Regions from separate parts of the Homo sapiens genome. Here all the other regions are linked to region 1. The links are contacts of gene promoters, found by promoter capture Hi-C in human tissues and cell types (Jung and others, 2019). All regions are on one chromosome and are shown on one strand. The core of a region is centred on a gene start or on the middle of the fragment in contact, and the rest is flanking DNA. Distances in the headings are between cores, read along the strand shown. Region 1 holds the start of RCAN2 (regulator of calcineurin 2). Region 2 overlaps RCAN2-DT (RCAN2 divergent transcript). Region 3 overlaps RCAN2 (regulator of calcineurin 2).

Region 1 (4,557 bases), core at 609-3,108:
TATGAGAACTCAGAAACAGCATCTAGAAAAGTAACAATATCTATATTTGGTGTTAGGAAAATGGCTATGTTGATTTTGGTAACAGCTAACATATATTGAGTATCACTGTGTGCCAGGCACTGTGCTTAGGTGTTTTACATGTATTACCTCATTTAGTTCTCAGATTAAATCCTGTGTTTTTCCAACTTTTCAAAATTTCTGCAATGAATATATTGCTTCTATAAGCTGAAAATTTTATTTGTAAATGTATATTCACAAAATAATAAATAGTCCCTGTTAAGATGAAAGTCATCAGTTTGACGAAGATTCTAGGAAGTACTCACTAATAATAAGTGAGATTTTGTTTAAAGGGTTGGGGATGCTTTACTTGGAAAGAAAGGGGATCCTGGAGTGCATTAGACATGCTAGCTATTTTTACATATTTTAAAGATAGTTAGAAGAGGAATTTGACTTGGTTTCTTTGGCTTCAAAAAGTAAGGGAGAACTAATGATTAAAGGGAGGCAAGTTTTTGCTCAACTTAAGAATGCCCTTTCAGACAATTCTAACCCAAATGGCAATTATCTAAATCAACGACTAATTACAGATTTATGCATCCAGGGGAAGGCTGAACGAGGGGAAGCCTAAGGTCATTTTCAATTCTGAAATTGTGTTTATGTTAATGCAGATTAATCAGAGAGAAGAGCCAACGTCTCGTCTACCTTTTTTTGTTGAAAACAAACAAAACGTGATTGTATGTCAACTTTGGAAAAAAACAACGTAGTGTGGGTAAGTGAAGAATGATTGTGAATGGACTGCTTCAGTGCAATCGTAATATTGTTATCAGAAAATCAAAAGGCATAAAAAGCAAAAAGAAAACGGCTTATTTATGCAGCAATTCGAAAGATGACAGAACACAAACCTGATTTAAATGTTATTCACTCCCTCCCTCAGATTGGTCTGCACACCTCCTTCCTTTAATTTCCCGCACTCTCCTATGATCTTTTGCATAATTCACATTCTCTTGCCATGAGACTCAGTCCTGTTCCTATCTGTGCCACCCGTAAGCCACAGGCTTCCTTACCCATTTGAGTTGCTTTATTCCGTAAAGCAGAGACTTCTACTGGGGTTAACTTTGTTGAGCAACAGATCTACCCTAGATTGCGATTCACCTTCAGTCCCGTTTGCTGTAGGATACCAACCTCCCACTCACTGTGTCATGGCTCTCACACAATAGGATTCCTTGCAGCCCGAACCCTTCTGTCCTCAGGTCTGATGGCTGCAAATCCTGGCAAAGCTGTGAAGCCCGCGCAGGGCACCCTCAGCGGCCTGGGCTGGGCCGGGCGCAGGGCTCCAGCCAGAGGGCGCCAGCGCCCACCAAGCGCAGAAGCCCGGGAGGACCATCCAGGGGCTCCCCGACATTTCCTCAGTTAGCCAGAGTCGGGGGGCTCAGACATCTGGTAAGAAGAGTCTTTCTCCCAGTACTCCCCCACCACAGTTTGCTTCTCTGACCATTTCTTCTGGGCTGTCGCTGCCCCCTCACCCTCAGCTTAGTATGGGACCCCGAGGAGCCTCTTCCCGCTGAGGCCGGGACTCCTGCAGCCAGGCTCCCACGCCAGGTGCCCGGAGGCTCCTGCGCCCTCCCGGGCACCTGAAGTGGAAAGGAGGGGGTGCGGGGCTGAGGGCAGGGTGAGAGCCCCGGAGGTGCGGTGGGTAGGGGACTGGGGAGGGCGCCGGGTCAGGAGGGAGGAGATGAGAAGAGGCCAGACAGGGGCTTTCGGTTTCCCTGGGTCTGATTGGAGGTTGGCCCGATGAGTCGGAGCTGGGGACGCGCCCATCTCCGCCGGCTCCTGCGAGAGCCGCCGGCTCAGCCCCTCCCTGGAGCCGCTTTGTCCCGGGTGACGGCGGCGGAGGTTGCGGGGAGGAGCGGGCAGCAGGCAGAATCCCACTGACCCACGGCGGCAGAGAGAGGGAGGCGGGGCGCGCCGCGCCGCGTACGGCCCCACGCAAAGGCCCGCGGGCACCGCGCCGCCCCCACGCGCTCGCACCGGCGGGCAGGTGAGCAGGCAGCGCCGCGCGCTAGCAGCTGGCCCCCGTAGACGCCCCAGCCGCCGCCTCCGCCTCCGCCTCCGCCGGCGCATCGCGGACGCCCAGCAGGTCGGTTATGTAACCGCGCCGGCCAGGCTCGCCCAGGCACCCCGTCCCGCCGGGGCTGACAGCAGCCCCGGGGTCGTGCCGGGGGTCCGCGGCGGGGATCTGGTCTCCGGGCCGGGTCTGGGTGCAGGGCGGGGGCGGGGGCGGGGGCGGGGGCGGTGGCGGGGGTGGGGGCAGTGGCGGGGGTGGGGTTTGTCTCCAGATCTGTGGTCAGTCCCGGCTGCGGCCGTGGGGACGGAGATCTCCCGCGACCCCCCTCTAGGGGGCGCGGGTCCAAAGGAGCCCCTTCCCCACTGCCCGTGGCCCGGGGGTTTGCCTTCCTGGAAGCAGCAGCAGGTGCATAAGTGAAGGAGCGAGGATGACGCCTGTGATCCCCGGGACTGAGGCTTAGAGAGGGTCTAGAAGAGACTAACTGGATGCAGAGAGCAAAGAAGATCGAGAGATCCCTTCTTCCCAATGCAGAGGCTGGGGAGGGGGTAGGTGCACTGAGGTGCAGCGGGCTGAGAATTGTCCTGCTTGGGATTAGCGGCCTTGGGTCATCTAAAAATAACTTCAAGTTTGAAAAGTGAAATGGAGCGGAGCGCAGTGTGCCGGGTTCGTCCTGCCTGTGGGATGCTTCGCTCCAGAAGTCACCAGAGGGAACAGGCAAATCCCAGCCGCCTGATCCCTCGGCCGCCTCCAGGTCTCGCTGGTTTCCAGGGTGCCTCGGTTTGCCTTTTAGTTAATGATTTATTCTTCGAGGTACTTCTGCCTATTTCTTATCCCAAAATGAATTATAGCAGAATGCATGCTTTGAATCTTTCCTGTTTCTTACAATGGGATAGAGGTGTTCAACTGCCAAATGAAGTTTTTTTAAGTCTCAGTTTAGTAAAAACAAAAGTTTCTGGGGTTCCTTTAATATGCATTCCCACAGTTTTCCACAATTGGAGATGAAGGGATGTCACAGCATTCCAGCTCACACTTCTCTCTCCCTTCAGCCAGAATTTCACTCAACTTATCATGCAGAGGGGAGGCTTTAGGAAATGTAGGACAACTTTAACAGTGCAACTCAAGTTTCACACCTTTGTTATCCTTTATTACATCACTTCAAAACGAAGAACAAATGTACCACAAGGTACCACGCAACACTTGCTAACCGGCCTCTGCATTCTGGGGGCACAGTGAAGTTGGAAATACCCAAAAGCTGGAAAGGATCAAGAGGCAGGTCAGCATTGACTGTCAACTAGGCAGGAGAGTGAGCATTTGGCTGCTTTTCAGTGTAGTCATTGATTTTCTTTAGCCTTAGAGCTATTATATTAAGTATGATCAGCCATTGAGTTCAATTAGTCTAAAATGTGAGTTGCACTTTGCATTCAAATCCACTGCAAATCAAATCAGCATTTACTGAGCATCTACTACCTGAGTCCAGTCCATAGAATTTTGTGAGGGAAAAGTGTTCTCATCTAAAGCTACATGATTCTGAGAGCTCTCAAAATGCTTAGTGTGTGCAGGTCCTCCAGAACTCACCTAAATTTGGGAGGGCATGACTCTTTCTCCAGTGATGAACGTGTAACAGACAGAAGTGGGAACTCGAGAGCTTTCTCATTTGTAAGTGCACATCACGGTGTTAAAAACCACTTGTGTAATCATTTGCAGACAGTCATACATATCACAAATTCTTTTTATTGAGACTAACATTGACAATCACCGAGGTCTCATTTTCCTATTTTACGTTCTGTAGCATCCACTCGATCAATTCAATAATTATTTGTTGAGCACCTCCTGTGTGCTTTGTAGGTCCTGTGCCAGAGGCTAAAAGAATGAGGCCCATGCCTCCCAGAAATCAATTTAGCAGAAAAGGAGAAGAAAATAAATGGTAATGATTCAACATCATGAGTGTTTAATGAAGACAGAAACAAGTTTAATGGGAGCCAACAGAAGAAAGAGTGGAGGGAATCTGGAAGAGTTTAAAGAAGAGTTTACATTTGGTCTGGATCCCAATAGGTGGTAGGAGTTGTCTAGAGAAGGGGCTGGGTATTCCACACTGAAGGAACAGCATACACACATGGCAGAAAGGTCACATTCAGAGGACACCTACATGTTCTGAGGGAAGACAGGAATGTTTAGAAAGGTTTCACTGAAGCTGGATTGTGAATATACCCTGCTAAGGAGGAGAAACCATGTGGCCCTTAATGGTAGGAATGATTTCATCTAACTTACATTTTGCAAAAGTGACTGTGGAGGTGTGAGGAGGTGGGGTTGCAAAAAGGAATGAGGAGACTTTAGACCATTGGAGTGGCACAGACCAAAACAAAACAAAAACCAGAAAACTTATGAAATGTGCCTGAACCAGATGGCCTGGAGGAAAGAGAAGAGATCTATACAGAGCCATTTCAGGGGGAGGATCGGTAGCATTGGTCACCAAGTGGATGGTGGTATGGAAGGAG
Region 2 (4,557 bases), core at 1,434-3,933, 35 kb before region 1:
CATTCTTATCATAAGATTATATAAATAAAATTAAATATAAAAATTGTGGAAGTAACAGAGCACAAACATTATAAACATAATAGATGCTGAAATAACTGCTACTGTTAATATTTGAGAGTGACTGAAGTGTTGGGTTACCCCTTAGTGGTGGGCATCACATCTACACCTTCCAGAACCCATCTGAGACATGTTCTCAGCCCTTTAAAAATGTTATTATCCATGTTTTCTTTAATGCTGAAAACTGCAGATCCCTTGCTTTGTGCCTTTGTTCTTTCATACAGAGACACTTTCTTCCATCTCTGGTTTTCTTTTGCTGAGCAAGGAGCCTTTTCCAATCCCTTGAGGTCTGAAACTTTCTCACCAAACTGACTCCCCTTTCCTCTGGAGACAGGCAGCATTGCATTTTTGTAGGCTCCTTTGCAGTAAGGTGTGGCCCTGTGACTGAGTTCTGACCAATAATGTGGACAAAAGTGATGCACAACTAACTTCCAGGACTGGCCGGCCCGTAATAAAAGCTTCCATGCACTGCTCTGTTTTCTTCCTCCACATACCAGCAGGAATTATGGATTCAGTGATGGTTCTCAGGCTACAGGGGATGGTGGAGAAACAAATAGAAAAAGTCTGGATCCCTAAATGACTGTATGGAGAAGGGTCACCTCCTCCCAGCACAACCCACATTAAAATGTAAAAATAGGAAATAATATACTTTTACAATGTTAAGTCACTAAAATTTGGAAGTTGTTAGTTCCAGCAGATAACTTATCTTGTACGTTTACATAAGAGTTATATAACATAATTTAAATGCTATGTTGTCATTTGGATCAGACTTAAATAAGCCTCAACATCACTTGAAAATTATTTCTGTTACCATGCCATGAAGAAAACTAAACTGAGTTTTCTCAGTTTGGAGAGCAAATACCATAAAATGAAATGAAGACAAATTAATTTAGACCTGTTTAAAACTTTAATTGATTTGATTTACTCTAGCTTATTCACCAATAAATGGAATGTGGTGAAATGATCGTCATGTATCTTTCAGATTTTTATGTTCTATTTACATGGGTTTTCAAGAGCTTTGTTCCAACGAGCTTGTTTTGTGATTCTGAGCTCCTTCAGAAAGTAGTTTCATATTTAATACATCATGTTTGATTGTTGCTAAGCATCCTTTTGGTGCAAATTAATAACAACACAAGCACTAGCTTCAAAAGCCAAATACAGGATGGGGCTGGAGCAAAGGATGCTAGACTGACTGCCCTCTGACTTGCAAAACCAGGAGATTTCACATGTGAATCTCTGTAACAATTTGTTTTTCTTTTGTTTTGGCTTCTTCTCCAGTAAAGAAGAAAATAAGAATACAACATTGTGATTGTGAATTGCTCAATGTTGATTAGCTCCTCTCTAATTCTTGTGCTAAAAAGAAAGCTCATCTGCAGAAGGCAAAAAGGCTGCCAGGTGGAGAAGGATGGCTGATCCAGGACTGAGCTGACCGCAATATGAAGGGAAATGAAATGGTTTTGTGTAGTCATATTAGGCACTGGAACCTGCAAATGAAGCCAAGGGTCAGTTACCGAAGGGGAGACACATGTAGGAACATGAACCTGAAGACAGCTGCTAAACCAAAAGATTGAGCATCAGAGGAGCAAGCTCAGGCTTAACAAATAGTGAGAATGACAGCAGGATATTCAACCATGGTGACAGTTTAGGGCTGAATTTGTTTAGCCCATGCAAAACCCAAGCCTGGAAGGCTTCGCCTTACCATTTAGCTTTATCCTGCAAGCTTGCTGGGTCCTGAGGGCCTCTGAGTGTTGTGAGTGGTAGAGGCAGCTGGCAGGTGGTGGAGGATAAGGTAGGGGATTATTCACAAAAAGCAAGTGGATCTTGGCTGAAACAAAGATACAGGGCTCAAATGAAGATCACACCTACTGATAAACAGGCAAAGTGCCATTGTTGCTGAAGTAAAATCTTCATCCTGTGCCAGCAGGAAGGAAAGCTAGTGTGGCAGTTGAGTACAGGGCTCCCAAAGTGTAGCCTGGGGCACTACGATGGCTCCTCCTTTTGTCCCCAGCTGTGGCCAATGGAGATATTGATGAAATAGAGGCTGGGCCATCCTCAGACACTGACCTGGGTCCTCTTCCTGTTCCCTTCAGGTCATGCCGCCTCCTCTTTCCCCTGTGACCTCTCTTCTTTATTTTCCCTTCATATTTTCTCTCCTTCTGCCAGAGACTGTTTCTCTAATCAAGGAGTGGGAGTGAACAGAAGCTTTTCTATTTCTCACATTTTCTTTTTGTCCCACTTGCATTGGCCAAAGCAAGTCATACACCCTAGCCAAGTATCAGTGTGGCAAGCCTTATAGTCTTCTTTTAGGGAATAGCCGTCATCCTCCACAAGCACCTTCTAACCAGTCTTTGGTGGATAGGATTGGACCTGTAGACTCTCAGGGTAGGGCCAACCTATTTCAGATGGGAGGGATCAAAGGGACAGAGAGAAACAGTTTTGACATGAAGCTTGAAGAAAATATTGAAGTCAGATACAAACCCCAGGAAGATTTTGGCCTCAGTGAGGAAAGTGAAAAGAAGGTTCATTTGTAAACATTACCAGAATACTTAGATTAGTATTAATTGATAAAATTGAGTTAATGAATGACCTCTCTGGGTTTGATCAAGTTAGCTTAAAAGAGAAAAATGTTACTGGCTCATTGTTAGCTTGGTGCAAAAGTAATTGCAGTTTTTGCCATTAAAAATAATTAATTTTGCACCAATCTAATATATGCAGTAGGAACTTTGAGCCTTAGTTTTATGGATTTGGATGGGAATGCTAGAAGAATGTAATAATGAAATCTTTGGGAAAAATTGTATTCTATAAATAAGGAGAGCTCCACAGTTACCAAGATTTTGGCAAATATGATTTAAATGTCAGTGAAGGAGTTTCAGTCTACATTTGAATGGAATCTTTTCCTTCTTGTCCTTTTCTTGCTGTTATTGTTCCTCCCCTTTCTCCACTCTCTTCCTCCTTTTCTTTATTCTTCTTCTTATTCTCCTTCCTCTTTTCTTCTTCTTCTTTTCTTCTTCTCCTTCTTCTTTTTCTTCTCCTTCTTCTTTATCTTCTTCTTTATCTAATTCCTCCTTCCTCTTCCACTTCCCTCCCCCCTCCCCCTTCTTCTCTTCCTTTTTCTCCTCCTCCTTCTTCCTCATCCTCAGTCTGATCAACCTCCCTCCTTCTCCTCTCTTCTTTCCTTCTTCCTTAGTATTCTTTTCCTCATAAGTATTTATACTGCCACTTTTGAAATTCTTTGAATATTTTGTCAATTCTCAAGGATTTTTTCAAATGTAGCTTTTTAAATACTAAAAACATACACTGATTGTATCAATTAGAATTATATTTGGCTGTATATAATGGAAAAATCCCAAATAACAATTATGTAAACATACCAGGTTCATTATCCCACATTAAAGAAGCCAGAGTTCAGCAGCCCAGGACTGGTTTCACCCTCCATAGTGTCATAAACTTGACACCGAGAAGGGCAAGGAGACCTGGTAAGGTCACACATCAAGTCAGCAGAACTTGGACTGCTGGAAAGCAAGACAAGTTTTGTAACTCGAACAATGGAGCTTCAAGCGATTTCTAAATTTAGCTTATTTTGAACTTGTCTTTATTCTCCTTATTGTCCTCTTTTCTTTGATTTCTTTCAGCTCCTTTGTTGGTTTTATCTTCCCTTTGCAGCATCCTTGCAACAAAATATACCACATGGCCTTATTCTCCGGGAAGACAGTAACTGTCAGAAATATAGAAGTCACTACCTCTGAGGTGGTGCAGACACCTGCCTGTGGTCCTGATGGATCGCTGGGAGGTAATAAGATGGATTGCCCAGAACTTCAAAATGGAGTCCAAATGCAAAGAATCAGAGGGAATTCACACAGTCACAAAATGCAACACAAGGGACCCATTGACTTAAGGCATTTTTTTGGTGCTTCTTGCTTTTTTCTCTATTAATAACTGTTGGGTTATACTAATATCAAAGTAGGCAGTGGATGTGGTAGAAAAGGATGTGGGCTTTGATTTCAAATCTACTGGACTTATATTCAGATATTACCTATCTACCAGTTAAGTGTCTTGGGAAAGTTATTTCTATAACCCCACTTTCCTCATGTATCAAATGGAGGTAATAGTCTCCACTCTGCAGGTCTGTTGTCAGGATTAAAAGAGATGATACACATAAAATTTTTGGCTCTTTGATTTTAAACAAATAACTACAAACTACAGAAAAACAAGCCATATGAAAATTTATGTTTACAAAATTAGGTAAATTAGTTATTAATAATTTGAATTTTAAATAATAACTACACTGGTTTAAAACATGCCACCTTCAAAGGGAATGCAAAGTCTTGTTTACATAAAACAAATCTAATGTACACACAATTCGAGGAGTAAACTGATGTCTGTTTTACTCATTGCTGGATCTAGAACTAGAATGGTTTTGGGCACATGGGAAATTTTCAGTAAATATTTGTTGAATGAATGAATACATGAATGAATGAAATAACTTTCTATTCTATATGT
Region 3 (4,557 bases), core at 1,276-3,775, 34 kb after region 1:
TACTGAAAGTAATGAGCTTAAAATAAAATCTCATGAAGATAATATTGTTACAGCTTAGGATAGAAATTAAGGCTATTTGAGTAGATTAAAATGAGTCCTGAGTTAAGCTTAAAATTTGATCTATTTAATTAATTTGTTCGGCAATGGATTTTAGATTTTTTTTGGAAAAATAATAATTGAAACATTCTTACAACACATCTAAGAGTGTTTTATAATGTTTTGATTCACTTAAAATATTTTAAATAAGAGGGATGAGATTAAAAATAAAATTCAAATTGACACAGCATCTATTTGTATGCTGCTGAATGATTATGACTTCATTATCAAAAGAGTTTCCTGGCTGTGTGCAGTGGCTCATGCCTGAAATCCCAACGCTTTGGGAGGCCCAGGTGGGTGGATCACCTGAGGTCAGGAGTTCGAGACCAGCCTGGCCAACGTGGTGAAACCCTGTGTCTACTAAAAATACAAAAACTAACCGGGCGTGGTAGCACGTGCCTGTAATCTCAGCTACTTGGAAGGCCCAGGCTGAGGCAGGAGAATCACTTGAACCCGGGAGGTGGAGGTTGCAGTGAGCCAAGATTGCGCCATTGCGCTCCAGCCTGGGCGACAAGAGCAAAACTCCATCACACACACACACACGTGCGCGCGCGTTTTCCTGTAAACTATTAATGAAAATGCTAGTGTTTTGATGATGCTTTTACTAAATATTTTTACTATTAAAACAATTGATACTCTAATAAATGACGGTAATTAGGTGTTTTATGCTAAAATATTCAAGCAACAGTATAAATAAATATGAAAGAAAATACATGCACATGTTTCATTGAAGTTGTCTAGCAGTTCAATTCCCTTTATATTAATGCTATTACATGTTTTTCCTTCTAGTTAAAAATATTCATATATTTTAGATTATTTAATAAAACATGTACCATATTTTTATTTAAAATAAGTATTTTGTTGATTTAAATATGGAAATGCGCTAATTGGAGTTTGAAGAACTTTGGAGTGCAAGAATTGTTTTATTATATTTTATATAGAAATTTTTACTTACCACAATTTTGATGATTTGATTTTAGAGATATCACCTCAAACTATTTAATTTTTGGCTCCTACCTCAACCGGGCTTAAGATTTTATATGTAATGCATTATTGCCAGAAAATGCTGCTTACCAACTCTCATTGGGGCTTTTCTAGGAAAAATGAAAATAAAAAACATAACCTCATCACTATGAGGTTCAAGGGTTTATTTCACAGTTCAAGAGAGAGATAAGCAGAAACTGATATTTTGTCTGGGGATCTGGAATTTGTATCTAGCTAAACTTCATGAGAGCAGATTGATGTTTAGTGGTACCCACCTTTCTGTCCTTTGCTCTGAGCATCTGTGATGATGGGACTGAAGAACATGGAGCTTCCTGAAGATGATTCAGTAGCCATGTCATAATTTTCAGTCAGTCTTACTTGCGTAACCATGAGCAAGTTATTTCACTTTCCGAGCCTCTTAACTATTGAGCTTTGAGCAGAATAGTATCACAGTCATGAAAATCGGTACAAAAGAAGAAAGTAGATACCAGCCTTGGACTATATGGGGATACTGACCTAATCCACTAAATTATGTACCAGTATCAAAAAAATGGAAAAACTCTGCAGTTAGGCAAACTGCAAATATAAGGGGTGAAAAAATAATAGAAGGGTTGAACACAGCTAGGTGAAATCAATACTGGAAAGCCTTACAAGGCAAGGAGGGACGGGGACCTGTGCACCATGGATTGATCAAGATAGCACTGATTTTTTTAGGATCTGGACCTGGTTCACAAATGACTTGAAGTAATTATCTCAGTCAGAAGAGGAAATATCTGGGAGGTGTGTGTGTGTGGTGTGTTTACTCTCACTGTACTCTCACAGGATGAACTATTACCTGTTAGAGTTATCATGATCAGGATTCAGGTGCTGATGAAGTAGATCATACTTTCTTAAATATAGGCTTCTACTTATTTTGATCTGCTTCATTCCTGTGGCATAGGAGAGTGAGCTCTGGTGCCAGTTTCCCTGAGTTTGAATCCTAGCCCTGCCATTTTGTCAGTGGTCTTGTAAAAGTTACTTAATTGCTTTCTTCCTGTTTTCCCATCTGTAAATTGGGGAAAATATTGGTACCAACCTTATAGACTATTGTGGAGATTAAATAAGGTAGTTAATGTATGTAATTGATGTTCTAAATTTATATAAATCATTTAGAATAGTGCCTGGAACTCAATACACGATAGACATTGGTAGTAGTGGTGGTGATCTCCATTTCCTATACCTATTTGTTTGTCTGTTTGTTTTAAAAAACCATAGTACTGACTCGGTTCTTGCCCCAGAGCAGAGCTGTATGGGAAATTCTGGTTCAGGGATCAAGGGAACCATGTGAACTTGCAGATCTTCTCCCTTCCAATATCCCCTGCCTCTGCTCCTAATCGTACTCCACTGTTCTGCCCCTGACAATACAAAACTGTGACCCGAAAACTGAGTTTTAAGGAATTTGTTCTGCAGTAACACATGCTCATCTTTGTATCCCCAGGAATGAGGGGAGAATCATACTTCATCGGAATGAGGAGCCCAGGGCAGCAGGGACACGTCCCTGAAGATGGAGGACTTTTCTTACTGTGCTGCATAGACAGGGACTGGGCTGTCACTCGTTGTTTTGCAGAAGAAGCCTTTCAAGCAATCACTGACTTCAATGACCTCCCCAACTCGTTGTTTGCGTGCAATGTTCACCAGTCAGTGTTTGAAGGAGAAGAGAGCAAGGTAAGCTGCCTTTTTCTGTTCCTAAAACATGGGGAGATATGGCATTATCTCCAAGTAATCCTGTTGTTCATTTGTGGTTGGTGTTTTGAAGTTTTTGGAAATGTTTAGTTGGCTCTATTTTTGGCATGTGTACCAGGATAAGAAAATCCCATTCTATTATCAACTAACTTTAGAGATACATCTGACAGGGTTGTAGATGAGAATATGTTGAATCAAATTGAGTCCTCTGTGACTCACAGGTCTATCTAGCAAAACAAATGGTGTTAATATGGATTGTAGGAAATGCCCCTTAGGCTAGGAAGCAGATGTCTTAAACTCCTAAAAGTTTCCTTTTCCTCTATTCTGCCATAAATATAATTTGCCTTTCTCAAAACAATACAAACTCCATTTTACCTCCAGCCTTCCCGCAGCTTGACGAATGTTCTAAAAAAGCCTTCTTAAACTGTGAGCCAAGTCTCACAGTAGATATTAGAGAAGGTAAGTTGGTTGGCATCTGAGTCCTTCTTTGCTCATTGATACCATGGTGGTATTGCCATGTGTGTGTTGTAAGAATTTGAATGAAGCAGCAACTCCTCAATTTGAAATGATAGGGGAATGAGGTTGTCTATGTATTAACATTTTCCAGCTTCCCATTTTAAGAAACAGACTTAACTTAGTGTAAATGTTTTTGGCAATCACAGTAAATATTCCATTTGGAGACCTTTCCAAAGTTTATTTCAGATTTCTCTGACCTTTGAATGGGGTATCTAAATGGATTAAACCTTCCCTTGTAGATGTAGATTCTTAGTTGTAAAAGCCACTATTATACTACTGAAACATGGACAAAATTTTTTGGATAAAGGGCCTTTTTTTTTTCTTTTTCTTTTTCTTTCTTTCTTTCTTTCTTTTTTTTTTTTTAACGGAATCTCGCTCTGTTGCCCAGGCTGGAGTGCAGTGGTGCAATCTCGGCTCACTGCCAGCTCCACCTCCTTGGGTTCACGCCATTCTCCTGCTTCAGCCTCCTGAGTAGCTGGGACTACAGGCGCCCATCACCACGCCCAGCTAATTTTTTGTATTTTTAGTAGAGATGGGGTTTCACTGTGTTAGCCAGGATGGTCTCGATCTCCTGACCTCGTAATCTGCCTGCCTCGGCCTCCCAAAGTGTTGGGATTACAGGTGTGAGCCACTGCGCCCGGCTGAGGCTTTTTTTTTTCTAAACTAAAGTATATGACTCTGTGTGAGGTATAAGAGTAGGCTTTATGGTTGCTGTTTCACAGACTTTAGCTCTTTCTGCCCATTGCTGAAGTCTGTGTCTGGCATAATTACTGGAAGTCTGATTTACGGATATGATTGATTTTGTAGACAATCCTGATAGCCACAGACAAAACCATCCCAGAGGATTAGGAATTATTTTAAGCCATTTAAAGATATTTTTATAATGATATCAGTGTGGAGTTGAACTGTTGAAATTATGGGCTGAAAATAGCTTGAAATACAAGGAATTATATATAATTAGAACCTCCAGTGCTATGATCATCAGACTATTTAAAGTAAGAAAGTGGCACATGCCAATTTCTTCTTTGGAAGAAACTGAGAATTTTGTTCTTGGATTATAACCAGATTATCACAAATGATAATTTTCTCAGGGCAAGTAGTTTCCTCTGAAATATACCTGCCATAAACTATAAAGCAACAGTCTATGTATTCTCATCATATCATCCATTTCTCTAAATATCACAATTAGAAGGATTTTCCTTAGAGATTTAATGAGGGTTTTCATTCTTTCCTGATTAA

What was found. The method cuts DNA at HindIII sites, captures the fragments that hold promoters and counts their contacts. A contact is called where the count stands out against the background at its distance.
Region 2: a fragment that was not itself captured here is called in contact with the fragment with the promoter of RCAN2 in region 1 in 1 of the 25 tissues and cell types used here (psoas muscle).
Region 3: a fragment that was not itself captured here is called in contact with the fragment with the promoter of RCAN2 in region 1 in 1 of the 25 tissues and cell types used here (hippocampus).

Annotation. Positions count from the first base shown.
Region 1 is chr6:46,488,750-46,493,306 of GRCh38, reverse strand. RCAN2 (regulator of calcineurin 2) reads left to right here and starts at 1,858. Exons shown (of 5, transcript NM_001251974.2): 1 at 1,858-2,134. It overlaps RCAN2-DT (RCAN2 divergent transcript), which reads right to left and starts at 1,255. Exons shown (of 3, transcript NR_125837.1): 1 at 1,180-1,255. RefSeq lists silencers at 1,236-1,295, 1,806-1,895. The HindIII fragment of the contact is 8,830 bases long and covers 1-4,557 here.
Region 2 is chr6:46,524,240-46,528,796 of GRCh38, reverse strand. The region is part of intron 1 of RCAN2-DT (RCAN2 divergent transcript); the gene reads right to left. Among named protein-coding and RNA genes, the nearest start is that of RCAN2-DT, 34 kb to the right of the region's middle. The HindIII fragment of the contact is 3,073 bases long and covers 1,147-4,219 here.
Region 3 is chr6:46,454,979-46,459,535 of GRCh38, reverse strand. RCAN2 (regulator of calcineurin 2) reads left to right here. Exons shown (of 5, transcript NM_001251974.2): 2 at 2,558-2,784. The coding sequence starts at 2,560. Among named protein-coding and RNA genes, the nearest start is that of RCAN2, 34 kb to the left of the region's middle. RefSeq lists enhancers at 62-562, 563-1,063. The HindIII fragment of the contact is 8,684 bases long and covers 1-4,557 here.